Regions from separate parts of the Homo sapiens genome. Here all the other regions are linked to region 3. The links are contacts of gene promoters, found by promoter capture Hi-C in blood cells and fetal thymus (Javierre and others, 2016). All regions are on one chromosome and are shown on one strand. Each heading gives the region's core, a stretch centred on a gene start or on the middle of the fragment in contact. The rest is flanking DNA. Distances are from core to core; before and after follow the strand shown. Region 1 has its middle 170 kb from the start of SP4. Region 2 overlaps SP4 (Sp4 transcription factor). Region 3 holds the start of POLR1F (RNA polymerase I subunit F).

Region 1 (4,798 bases), core at 427-2,926, 1.6 Mb after region 3:
ATAGAATAAATCTAGATGCCCACCAAGGACAGACTGGATAAAGAAAGTGTGGTACATATACATCATGAAATACTATGCAGCCACAAAAAAGAACAAGATCGTGTCTTTTGTGGGAACATGGATGGAGCTGGAGGCTATTATCCTTGGCAAACTAGTGCAGGAACAGAAAATCAAATACCAGATATTCTCACATATAAGTGGGAGTTCAATGATGAGAACTCATGAACACAAAGAAGGAAACAACAGACACTATTGTTGAGTCTACTCAAGACTCTGTTGTTGGGTCTACTTGAGAATGGAAAGGGGGAGGAAGGAGAGGAGCAGAAAAGATAACTATTGGGTACTGCACTTAATACCTGAGTGATGAAATAACCTGTATAGCAAACCCCCATGACACGACTTTACCTATGTAAAAAACCTTCACATGTACCCCCAAACCTAAAATAAAAGTTAAAAAAGAAAAGAATGATCTTATAAACACAGAGATTAACACTGCTAACATTAAGATATGTATGCTTCCAGATATTTCCTATACACATATACATACTTACAAAAGTGGAATCACACTCTTTCTGCTGTTTCACAGCCTCCTCTATTCACATGGATATAAAAGATATCATGGACATCTTTTCATGTCAGTATGTGTAGATAATAACAGCTCACATCTACTGAGTGCTTACCATGTGCTAGGCACCTTTCTATGCATTTTGCATGAGTTGTTCCATTAATTTCCACAACATCCCTATGAAGTAGGTACTATTATTTCCCCCATTTTTTTAGAAGAGAAAAGAGATTAACTAGTGGCCAACACACAGACCCCACATGTTAATCTCTTGGCTTTTTAAGGGCTATGTTAGATTCTGCTGTATGGACTTACCAACCTTCTTCATTGGTGCGTAGTTCCATGTTTCTGGAAAGAGCAATTTCCAGAAAGAACAACTCCGGTATCCAAACTAGTTGCTTGTGTCCTCTCACATGTAAATATACCTCAAACTATCTCAACTTTGCTGATCCCATTATCTTTTTAGAACTCCCTTCTCCCTCTCCATGTTTTCCTAAAATTTACCCAGATCCACTTTTCAGGACTCCTGAACCTATCTTATCACTGCCACTGAGACACAGCAACTAACTCAGGAGTGACATGCCCAGAATCCAAACCTAAACTGTGCTATGTATCAACCAAGTGACCTTAGGCATGACTTAGTCCACCCAAGCCACATTTTTCTTATCAGTAAAATGAGGATAAAATATCTACCTCACAGAGCTATTTGGTAGTCTCAAATAGCATAGATACGCATGTACCTGGCAAATAGTAAATTCTTAATAAATGTCAGAGAGAAATGCCCCCTTGCTTGAATGAGGACCTCAAGGTCAAAGGGAGAGAAAATAGCAGATCCTACATTGCTATAAAAGACAAACTCCTTTGGGAGGCCAAGGTGGGTGGATCACTTGAGGTCAGGAGTTTAAGACCAGCCTAGCCAACATGGTGAAACCCTGTCTCTACCAAAAATACAACAATTAGCTGGGTGTGGTGGTGGGGGCCTATAATCCTAGCTACTTGGGAGGCTGAGGCAGAAGAATCGCTTGAACCAGGGAAGCAGAGGCTGCAGTGAGCTGAGATTGTGCCACTGCACTCCAGCCTGGGCAACAGAGCGAGAATCAGTCTCAAAAAAAAAAAAAAAAAAAAAAAGACAAACTCAAATTTTAATGCTAGACTTCTGTGTCTAAGAACTTTGAGGATTCCAGGTTATATTATCTTTATCTTGATACACACATATGAAGAAAACCCTAAATGAATCTTTTTCTTGGCTATATTTGAATGGAAATTTTTGGAAAGCAAATTTAAAAGATCAAACAAATATTTATTGGGACAGATTTTTTGCAACCCAATAAAATAAAGCCCTGAGAGAAGGAAGTCTAACAGAGGGCAAAGCAAACTATAATCCCTTGCTGGTCAGTCTTCTTTTTCCTACAAAATGTCTAGGAATACCTATAAATACTAAATTATGAAGATTTGAAAAACATACTCTGGACTCATGCTCCATCACTTGTGCTCAGGGACTGTTTAATTGGAGCCAGTACCAAGATGCTAATTCCAAATTTATTCCTCAAAATGATTTCTGCTCCAAATTTAAGCACCCCTCTTAGTTGGCCCAACTTAGTGAATGTCAGAATTTGAGATGAGAGCTGACTGATGAGACTCCAAGCATGGGATGGTGAGGAAGAGCCAGAGGAATTGGCTAAAACATTAGCACCATGCTTCCAGGCATTCACACTGTGCAAATGCTTCTGCGGTGGGCAGGCCTCCTTATTATCTGCAGGTTCCCAAACCAGGAAGACTGTGAGCCATTCCCCCTCAAAGACCAAAGGCGTGGATGCAAATTTGCCCTTATTGCCCAGAGTGGCAGAAATCACTAGAGCACATGGGCTGAGGCATGGCCACATATACCGATGTGTAAGCCACTTATGTGATGGACAGTTTCCTTTCCTTTTATTTTATTTTATTTTGATACAAGGTCTTACTCTGTCCCCCAGGCTGGAGTGCAGTGGCAAGATCATGGCTCACTGCAGCCTCAACCTCCCTGGGCTCAGGTGATGCTCCTACCTCAGCCTCCCAGATAGCTGAGACTACAGGTGTATGCCATCATGCCTACCTAATTTTTTTTTTTTTTTTTTTGACATGGAGATGAGGTTTCTCTATGTTGCCCAAGCTGGTCTCAAACTCCTAGGCTCAAGCAATCCTCCCACCTTGGCCTCCCAAAATGCTGAGATTACAGGCGTCAGCCATTATGTCTGGCCACCATTTATTTTTGAGAGAGATCCCTGAACCAACACCAAAAATGAAAAATGGCCCCTGTTTGATATTTACCCTTTGGGATTGTCTAGTCGTGATTTAGCCAAGAGGTCTGTCTGTAGCATCTACATCTGCTATCATTCCTGGTCAGGTACATGATCCATGGACCCAACCTTAGGAGTGAAGTTAATTCCGTTGAGTCTAGGTAGTTCTGAGTTTCCACATCATCTCATGCACTTTTCATGAGAACGCCTTTTGCCTGGTATTTAACAGATGAGGCAGCTGAGGTGTAGGTAAAGAGATTTCCCCAAGCTCTCAAAGATGCTCATAAAGTAGCGTAACACACAGAATGAAATAGCTGATCCTCAGACCCAGATCTTCTGATTTTAAGCCCAGGATTTTTTCAGTGATCTGGGAACTGCTTTCCCCATAGATTTTCCAAGTGTTACCAATTACTGCCAGTCCTGGTAGGTCCCTGTGTAATACAAGGAACTTCCATAGTAACAGCCTGCTTGTTTCCTCCACTGGGGATGTTTGAAGCCACTAAAACACACATCAAAACTGACATTTATAACTCCTAGTTTTACAGCCTGTACTTCAGAAAGTGATATGTATCAATCTAGCTACTGACATTTAGGGCTAAAAAAAAAAAACAAACCCTGAGGTAATATGATTGGCCACATTCTGTTTTTTTTTTTTTTTTCCCGATATTGCAACCACTGGACTTAAATAGAAAATGTTCAAAAGACCCCAAATGTCACAGTCAAGAACTGCATCTAATTACTAACCAATTAGGTAACATCGTTGGTCTAACTGGCTCGGAGGGAAAGAAAAATGAAAGCCTCAGGACATAAGCCTACAAGGCATTCCAACTTGGTACTGGGGTTGCAAAGCAGAAGTACTTCCTTTTTTAATCTTTCAGCATTTATACTGTATTCCATCTTTAGAGAGAGAGTTAATTTTTCTGTGCTTAGTTTACTAGTTTGTAGAACTCAGCGACTATCTCTGAATAAGGCATAAGGAAGAAAAGTTTGCCACACAGTACCAATTGGGAAAAGCTAACTTATCATTCAGTAACAGGCACTCCCCAGATCTCAGTGACTTTACATTACAAAGGTTAACTGCTCGCTCACAGAACACATCCATCTCCATTTGACAGGGAACTCTCATTCATGTGGTTCTCACGCTGAGACCTGGCTGACAGCAATATCTGGAATATTCTGGTCACTGTGGCTAAGGGGAAGTAAACTCTGGAGGGGCTCACACCAGCAATACTTTGACCTGGAAGTGACATGTGCTATTATTACCTCCTACATCTCTCTTGTAAGAACAAGTAACATGGCCTTATCCTACCCCACCACAAGAGGGCCAGGCAGTGTGGTCCCACCAGAGCAGAAAGCAGGAAATACTCAATATACCACCCTCATGGCTGGTGGTACTGGGATAAAAATTGCATCTCAGAAAGAAAAAAACAAGTCTCTTTTCAACATATTCTGCTATTCTGATGCTTGCCTTTGACGTTGTCGTTCACGTGAAAACCAAACATTGTAAAATGTGTATGTTAAAGGGAATTTGGAAAATAGAAACACAAATTTTGAGCTATTAATGTTTTGTGAATGTCCATAGTGTAACACCCAAACATCCACACATTCATTCATTCATGAATCTATTCCCCATGCAGATGTTAACTGAGCAATAGACAGATGATGAGGACATGCACAAAGCAGTCCCTTCACTCCTAGAACTGACAGTACCTGGGGGAGATGGCCTGCCATGCACCACTACCACAGTGTGACAGAGGAAGAAGGGGCCAGAAGCACATAGGAGGGGCGCCCAATCCAGTTAGAGCGTCAACAGAGACTGCCGGGAGGATAGTACCCCTAGGCTGAGACATGAGAGAAAGGAAACACATTTTGGTACATTTCCTTTCAGTCTGTTTCCCTCTAAGCCTAGTTTGTTATTTTTACATAATTGTAAGAAAACTGTTTAGCCGAATTTGTATAC
Region 2 (4,368 bases), core at 1,043-3,542, 1.8 Mb after region 3:
ACACCTCTGCCCTCTCGGCTGGAGTCCCACTCCATGCAGGCACAGAGATCCCAGACAGGCCCCCAGGTTTGTGAGAAACACAGATTCACCTGTCCAAACCCAAAGAATGGACTTGGAGACACAAACAATGGAAGCGAGACTTTTAATGGTGGTCTTGCAAGATGGAGTGTCTGGTAGGCAGGCACACCCGGGGCAGTTACAGCAGGTAATTTATTTCCTAGCATCCAAATCTCACTGCAACCTCCACCCCGCCTGGTTCAAGCGATTCTCCTGCCTCAGCCTCCCAAGTAGCTGGGATTACAGGCGTGCATCACCACGCCCAGCTACTTTTTTTGTATTTTTAGTAGAGACAGGGTTTCACCATGTTGGCCAGGCTGGTCTCAAACTCCTGACCTCAGGGTCCACCCACCTCAGCCTCCTAAAGTGCTGGGATTACAGGTGTGAGCCACCGCGCCCAGCCTAAATACAGTTTGTTTGTTTTTTTAAGTAGGCCACTGCCTCCACCTTTGTACAGAGAAATCCCAGGTTCCTCCTGTCAGAACCTAGCTAGACCCTGGAATAAGATACCAAGACCAGGCTTGCCAACTGTGGCTTGGCATAGAGTTTGTGTTTGACCTGGGGTCAGGGCCTTGTCTACACACTTTTTTTTTTTTTTTTTTTTTTTGAGACAAGGCCGTGCTCTGTCATCCAGGCTAGAGTGCAGTGGCTCACTGTAGCCTCAACATTTGCATTACATGTTGATTTATATAATTAATGGATGGTGTTGCTTATTATCGATTGATTGTGAATCTGGCCACGACAAATTTATTCTAATTGTTTATTTTCTCAGATTATTTATGTAAATAGTAATAACTGTAAATAATAATCTATTTCAATTTTTTTCTTCCAGTGATTGTACCTCAGTTCATTTTACTGTCTTATATGTTGGCTTCGTCAGAATGTTTCATATTATGTTGAAAATAGTAATGATATATATAATAGCATTCTTATCTTGTTCCTGATGTATAAAGTAATAGTTCAGAAGTTTCTCCATTAATTATATGTAGGGGTATAGCAGGTAAAAGAAATAAATTTTTATTCCTGGTTTGCCAAGAGCTCTTATCAAAATGTGTTAAATTTTATCACACTGTTTTTATGCTTCTGTTGACCTTTTTTTTCTCTCCTTTAACTTTATGGAATCTTAAGTCATACAAAGTATTTTATTTTTGTGTAGTCAGATTTGTCTATTCTCTCTTTTATAGTTTCTAAATAACCTGTTGTACTTTTTAAAGTACCTTCAAACTCTAGGTTATAGAAATATTTTCCTTTTTTTTTAATACTTGGTTTTAAATCTTTGTAGCATGTATCTTGGTGTGTGGTATGACATGGAGGTGCATCTTCTTTGTGTTACTTCAGATGGATGTTTAATACAATATTGTATTGAGTGCAGTGCTCCTGTAAGTTTTAATATTTGTTTGTAACAATAATAAGGAAGACTAATGGTTTTTTCAAAGTTTACTCAAAAGTAAAAGCACACACGTAAAGAAAAAGAGAATGTAAAGAAAAAGAGAGAATATCTGACGTGGACCAACTTGAGCCTATAGATTTTTTTTATTGGTAAGTCAAAAGCAGGGCCAAGAAAAGAAATTATCCAAATTGAATTTTCTCATTATATTAGTCTGTTTTCATGCTGCTGATAAAGACATACCTAGACTGGGCAATTTACAAAAGAAAGAGGTTTAATTGGACTTACAGTTCCACATGGCTGGGGAGGCCTCACAATCATGGTGGAGGGCAAAGAGGAGCAAATCACATCTCGTGTGGATGGTGGCAGGCAAAGAGAGAATAAGGAAGACACAAAAGCAGAAATCCCTGATAAAACTATCGTATCTTGTGAGGCTTATTCTCAAGAACAGTATGGGGAACCCACCCCCATTATTCAGTTATCTCCCACTGGGTCCCTCCCACAACATGTGGGAATTATGGGAGCACAATTCAAGATGAGATTTGGATGAGGACACAGAGCCAAACCCTATCACTTATTACCCAAGTTTTATCAGACTGGGAAAACAACATTTCAGTCCCTTAAGTAACAATTTTAGAGGGAAGATCTACGGCTAACAGTTATTCATTGTGCACATCAGGATAAACCAGTTAACCAAATTTTGATATGCCTCATTTATTATACACAAAAACAAAAAGGCCTTTTTGTTTTTAGTTAACATTAAACTAGCTTTTATTCCAAAACAAAGAAGTCGGTCCAGTAAAACTATCTTATATTTTGAAGAAAACATATTTAAGAATTGCTTTGGACAACAGAAACTGTTATCTTATGAAACCTAAAAACTTTATTAAATTCTGAATGTAGCATGTGCCTGCCTCCCATTTTTGCCTTGTAAAGAACTCAGTATGCTATTAAATTATTAACTTAGTTTATTTGAAATAGTTCCAAGATATTTCATGCCTCCAAGATTAAAACTAAAACCCAGGTTAGCAGTTTTGAAGAAGAGTGGACATGAGCCTTGAACATTATATATATTTGTTACATCTGATAGAGATATTTTAAATTGTCTGCTAAAAACCCTCTTGCTTTGTAGATGGGAAAACTGAGAGTTCCAGTGGCTATTTACTTGCTCCAGCTTTTATTTCCAGTTCATAGCAGAAGCAGGACTTAAACTTCAGGTCTTTTCGTCTCAATCACATGGTCTTTCTCTTTGCATTGTGTATTTGATAACGTTTTTAAATAAAACAAAGCATTTTGCAACTAGTGAAACTGTACAAAAAGTCATATAATGTGACCAGAAGGGAGATTATTAAAAATTATAATTTCACTTAAGCAAAATGTGTATAACGCCATTTACTGTTTTTCTATGTAGGTGAAAAGAGATTTGAATGCCCGGAATGTTCTAAAAGGTTTATGCGGAGTGATCATCTCTCCAAACATGTCAAAACGCACCAGAATAAAAAAGGTGGTGGGACAGCTCTTGCCATTGTTACCTCGGGAGAACTGGACTCATCTGTTACAGAGGTGCTTGGCTCCCCAAGAATTGTCACAGTTGCAGCCATTTCTCAAGATTCGAATCCAGCAACTCCCAATGTTTCAACCAACATGGAAGAATTCTGAAAAGTTATTTATAACAGAGACCTCTAGTGCTGCACTTGTTTACACACCTTTGAAAATCTGGAAATGGGCTGGTCAAGTGGATTACAGAGTAGGAAATTATGTTTTCATTCTTGGCTTCTTTAAGTATTCCAGGGTTTGGGGTCAACACGTGAAGTGTTGAATTTTAAAAAATACAAAAAGCAGACTGATGTACTGGAAACAGAAAAGTATTTCCTCCATACTATAAGTTGTAGTTGTTTGGAAATATATCACATAACCTTTATACAGAATCTTCCCATCTCTTAATATCATGTGTTAACATGTTTAAAAAGACCTTAGTAGTTTGCAGGCTGGACCTTAATTGGACTTATTTTCTTTGAAAGTACTTTGTTATAAATTCAGTCAGTAATAATTTACGTGTATTCTTTTTCTCTATAGCACAGAAAACAGATAGTTAACTGATGATAGGGATAATACTGTATTTCCTTAGCTTGATTTTTGGAAAATCAACCGAAAATAGTTTGGCCGTCTTTTCTAAATGTTAGAAATTCTTCAACAGTTGAATTAGGTAAGTTCCAAAACAGTAATCTGAGATGCATCTCAGATCTTTATTACCACTACATTATAGTAGTGTGTATGCAGACAATCAGTGAAGTCCAATTACTTTCTCCATTTGGAGACACAAGAGGAACATAGAGTTAAATCTTAGGTTAAATTTTAGGTTGACACCTTAGGAAAATGCTGGGAAAAAAATGGTTAAAACAAAACTCATCATAGCTTCAGAAAAATAAAATGAGGCATCTTAACATGCAATGTTCTAAAGTTAGGATTGATTATATTCCTAACCCTAGGTTGAACCACAAAATTTCATTTAAAATGTTTATATTTGGAAATATTTGCATAGAGTGTAAATTGTTCTGTAGTTTCATATTTTGTAAATATGAGTTATGTTGACAATGTGCAGAATTCTTTATGCTTTGATGTGGTAGCCAAAGAAAGAATTACACTTTTTTCCAAGGCCAGCAGAAAATTCTCTTTTAACTACATTGTAATTCTTGTTTTCCTCTACTAAAAATTGGCCAGTCCCATTTTATTTCTAGTGCTATGTAAGAAGGTAATTAGGAATTATAACACAGTAATGTTTTTATGTTACATCAATAACTGAATTTTCCCTAAAAATTAGCCTAATATATAATAGATATATTATGAAGCAAAACTTTTATTTTTGAAAAGGCAGAATAATTTTCAGTGAAGTAAGTGACTAAAGAAAAAAACTATATTATTGT
Region 3 (4,814 bases), core at 2,217-4,716:
AAAGTCAATGACTTAATAGAGAAAATCCCAAACTTCAACTGTTGATAGTAAATGCAAATGTTAATACAACTACATTATTTAGGAACTGACTGACACTTTAGTCTACAAATGTAACAGTCATGATTAAGGGACAACTATTTTTCAAACTGTTATTTCTTAGCTTTTAAGGAATTATAACTATTAAGGAGAAAGACCTAGTGGTGGGAGGCGGAGGGTGTGGTGAGCTGAGATCTCAGCACTGCACTCCAGCCTGAGCGACAGAGGGAGACTCCATCTCAAACAAAGGAACAAAAAACAACAAAACAAACAAAACCTGGTGGCTTCATTACCACACCCACTACTTGTTGGAGAAAACTTCCCTGACTCCCCCAGGCAAAGCTGAAATCATTCCTCTACTCCTATAGGCCAACTTTCTCACTGTTCTTAATCTAATTGTATTGAACCTATCTGTATATATGTTTGAATTTCACACATGACTCTAAGGCCTTTGATAGCAAAGAATATTTTTTGTTGAACTCAAACTTCTAACAATTCACATAAAATAAGGGAAAGAATTTATCCCTAACAGATGTTGTTTAGTAAAACAGCCAGAAGCCACAGAAAATACACTTTAAGAATTACCAAATTAGGAAAACCCTAACTCAGAGACTTACTCGGGAAAGCAATTTTCTGAGGTTTTAATTTCCGCATGTGGCATTCCTAAGCTGGAATCATCCTATCACTAAGACAATGTTAGGGACACAGAAAACAGAGAATAGGAAGAAAAATTAACTGCCATACTAGACAGAAAAACAAATTATCAAGACTTTATTTCCGCTAATCAAAGCCTTGTCTCTCAAGTATCAGAGTGATTCTCAAGGGGAAGGAGGGCTGTGGTCCCCTGGTGGAAGGGGGGACATGTGGAAATTTGTGATACTAGTCATGGTTATCACAAACTTTGCAGAAGCCAGGGAAGAAAAGAGTCTGTCATGTACAGGACAGTCTGATACAATGAGGAAATGTCCTTCGCTCTGACTTTTGAATAAAAGGACAAATCTATTTACAAATAGCTAGGCACCTAATTTAACTCTTAAAACACATCAACACAAAGTCATCTTTGCACAGTTTTAATATATATTAAAATTTTCAGGAACTTAGCAGTATATAAATTCAAGGGGGATTTTGTTAAAAGTCATCAGATATGTGAACACAGGCACCCAACACTATATACTTTTTCCTCCTTCACTTTTGTTTTTCAGATACCATCCTAAATAGGTATCAGGGCAAGGTGGTAGCCTCACTTCAGTTCTTTAATACTATATGTTCAATGTTTTGTCCCTTATTAGTAATGCATAGTTCAAAGTGTGGTGCCTGATTTGCACTTGAATAAACAGCATACCCAAGTAATATGGAAGGAGTGGTGTCCAGATCTGTTCAGAGCCACTCTGCGTGATTTCCCCCTCTAGCCTGTCAAGTGCAGGCAGTACTGGTTACAGAAAACAAGATAGTTGCTTGTGTTTCCAAATGTTATGACTACTTTGTATATCCTTTAATTTCTCAAATCCATCCTCTCTAATCATTTTCTCTTGGACAATTATAACATTATCTTAATTCCTCTCCTTGTCCACTTTCTCATCCTATTTGGTAGCTAACCATTAAGTAAATGTTGTTTCTTAAACTGCAAATCTGATATGCCAGGGACTGCAGAGAAGTACTAGTTTCTCAAAAGTGTGCCAAGTCTCAGCGTTAAAGGGACTGAGAGGACGGAGCACTAACCCTGCTTAAGAAAACAGAAACACAAAAGGAAAAACAACAACAACCCCACCTTACCCCCAAAATAACAAAAACTGGCAATGGCAGGAAGGGAAAAGCAAAATGGCCATCCTCTCTGAGTCATCTTTGACCCCCTGCCCTCCTCTCCAATGGCATCCAATGCCTTTCCCCTGACATAAACCTTATTCTACTTATATAATAGATACAGTTCTCTGGGCAAAGCATACCAGTTCACATCCAGTATCCGTTTGTTTATGCCACTCTCTTTGCCTGGAATGTTACCATGTTAAAGTACCCTCTTCAATCAAGTTGTTCTCAAAGGTCCCAAGATCCAAATTCTACACTCCTTATCTTATTAGATTTCTGTCAAATTTTAACACTTTACTATTTATTGGCTTGTATTTGTATCTCTCCTACAGCTTAAAGCTCCTTGAAACAGAGATTTTATTTTTTGTTTTTGTATCTCAAGTGTTCGGTATGTAATATAAACATACAAGAAGTGTATATTGGTGCTTGGAAGAATCTGCAGATTCTAGACATGGGTGGAGGTCCAGGATCCCTTAAGAAACTGATAAAAACTTCCGATGCAGTGCCCAAGGAACTTCACATAGGAATTCCTGAAGGGCAATCATGAATCCCTAGAGAATCCATTCCCTCTAGTTTTAGAACCCCGCTTTTAAACCAAAGTATAGTCCAGAGGAATACTCAAGCACATGCCCGCGCCCCCCGCCCCACACCTCTGTAATTCTAAGTTTTCAAGTCACTTTTGAATACCGTAATATAAATGCATACGTTTTGGTTTTTTCTCTCCCCAAAGCAACAGGCTCACTAGTTCGACTGAATAAATCTTCTTAAAAACAACAAAATCCCGCTAAACTAATGGCATTTTCATAATCCCCAGATCAGGTCCAAGAGAAGAGAAAATGGGGAAATTACCAGAGCGAAATCCAACAACAAAAAAGGTCCTTCATGTTTTACAAATAGAACGGTTGTACTAATGCTTCGTATGCTATCTTCTATGGAATGAGAATCTACTCAAGCACTGCAAACCAGATTTTTATCGTCAAATGAGAAAGCATCATCCGTAAGGGGATAAATGAAACGTTGAATGCCAAACAGAACTGGGCCTACTAGGTCTCCAGATCCCTGGTCTTTTCCTACCCCTACACCAGGGTTCTGGAGCAAGAATCTCCACTCCCTCCGCCCACACCTGAACTTCATCTTTAAGTTTTCTTCTCTATCTATGAAAGGGACCCTGTATAGATCTTTACCAGAGCGGTACTGGCCTTGAGGGACGGATCGCGACTCTAGAAATCCAGGGGGCTAAGCTCTGGGGGGCAATGCGACCTTTGCCATTTGCCCCTTTCTGCTGCGTCGTCAGCACATCCACCTGCTTTACTTCCCGTGCACAAAAGAAGGAACAGGCAAAGAGATCGGTACCTCTCAGAATAGCGAAGGAGCTCCGCATCAAGCTGTTCTCGAATGCCGGTGCGTTTCCTGTTAAGGTAGCGGGGCGACAGCGCGATGTGCCTTTGGTGCGGCCCGGCCACCAGGCATGAGTAGCGACTGTTCACCAGCGCACAAGCAGCGGCATAAGTCGGCAACTCTAGGCAAGGCAGGACGCCAGCCTGCCCTACCAGAGACCCATCAGAAGCCGCCGCTGGCCGCGGCGCCTCTGAGCAACCTGCAGCCATGCTGCTTGTCAAGGTTCCCACGGCGCGCGCCGTTGACGCAAGCACAATCCCATGTCCCCGGCGCTCGTTTTACGCCATCCACCAACGACCACGCCCCTAGGAATTTCCCCTCTTTTCGCTGCATTACGCAGCCCTGACCAGCAGGGGGAACCGCGTTTTCGCGCTTCGAGAACGGGAGCTTAGAGCCTCGGAAATGCATTGAGCACGCAGGAAAGCCAACCGACTGCTCTTTTAAGGGCAGGCAAATGTGTGTTTTCGCACAGAGGCTTATTGGATTAAGTAGGTAGCTTAAAAATGGGGGTTCTCACTTTGATCATTTCCAGTAGTGAGGTGGGTTTGGTAGAATTTTACAGGCTTGGACTGTACAATAAAAAATCAAAATATTTATGGAGTATATTTTATGCAGTACACGGAATCCTAAGCAGGCCTGATAATTGTAATGCAACGCATCTGAAAACGAACCCACTAGTTCTCTCCTGTCCCGCTTCTCTTCTCATTATGCAACTGCTAAATCAGGGAATCATACAGCCAAGCTGTCAGCCTCGGATCCTCTTTTGTATCCCCAAGTATCAAATCAGCCTGAAGACCTGTATTGCCCAAAGTGGAAATATCATTCTATTTGGACACTATTCTCTTTCCCTGCCGCCAAAACCGCAGGACTCCCTGCCTGTGGAAGCCTAGCTCAATGGTCAGGAGGACACTCTGGGGCAGCCAGATCTTCCCTGAAATACATATGATCGTGTTGTGCCCTGTTTAAGCCCTACATAGGCACCCCATTTTCTCTAGGACAACACAAACTCATGAAAATGGCTTATAAGTTACAAGGCCATTTTGTGATCTGCGTGGGCACACAGCCTCTCTCTTCAGCTTCATTTGTCACACTCCCCACCCTAATATTATCATGCTGCTTGATCTACTTTCAGGTCTCTCTTTGTGCAGTCTCACGCTGTTCCTTCCACCAGGGAATATAATAGCATTTTTCACAAGGGTAAATTCTACTCATGTATGAATTTCTAGCTTAGATTTTACATTCTATACCTTTGCAAAGAGTTTTCAAGCACCCCACTCCTCTTTCTCTATAAGGATTAGGTAGTTACCCATCTATGTTGGTTTTTATGTTAATTTTTTATTAACTGTCTTTGCTTGCCTGTTCCATCAATAGATTCCTACACTCACTAAAGTGGGGACCATAATATCTGTATTGTTCACTACAGTAGCCCCCCACAATTTATCCCTCCTCCAAAGAAACGAAACCAAGAAAAACCCAACCAATACATCTTGAATGAATAACCTGATAGTGAGTTAATAAATAATAAGTGATAAAGAGCTCACAGCCTAAGTGGAAGTGGGATCTAAACATAAACATAT

What was found. The method cuts DNA at HindIII sites, captures the fragments that hold promoters and counts their contacts. A CHiCAGO score of 5 or more calls a contact.
Region 1: a fragment that was not itself captured here is called in contact with the fragment with the promoter of POLR1F in region 3 in 1 of 17 cell types (M2 macrophages); the score reaches 6.3 in M2 macrophages.
Region 2: a fragment that was not itself captured here is called in contact with the fragment with the promoter of POLR1F in region 3 in 1 of 17 cell types (M2 macrophages); the score reaches 5.2 in M2 macrophages.

What each region holds. Positions count from the first base shown.
Region 1 is chr7:21,257,780-21,262,577 of GRCh38, forward strand. No RefSeq gene overlaps it. Among named protein-coding and RNA genes, the nearest start is that of SP4, 170 kb to the right of the region's middle. RefSeq lists an enhancer at 3,537-4,262. The HindIII fragment of the contact is 7,026 bases long and covers 1-4,798 here.
Region 2 is chr7:21,508,167-21,512,534 of GRCh38, forward strand. It overlaps SP4 (Sp4 transcription factor), which reads left to right. Exons shown (of 6, transcript NM_003112.5): 6 at 2,856-4,368. The coding sequence ends at 3,103. Among named protein-coding and RNA genes, the nearest start is that of DNAH11, 33 kb to the right of the region's middle. The HindIII fragment of the contact is 5,640 bases long and covers 1-4,368 here.
Region 3 is chr7:19,705,571-19,710,384 of GRCh38, forward strand. POLR1F (RNA polymerase I subunit F) reads right to left here and starts at 3,467. Exons shown (of 4, transcript NM_001002926.2): 1 at 3,193-3,467. The coding sequence starts at 3,446. RefSeq lists enhancers at 2,591-3,195, 3,160-3,229, 3,196-3,798, 3,340-3,619. The HindIII fragment of the contact is 8,345 bases long and covers 1-4,814 here.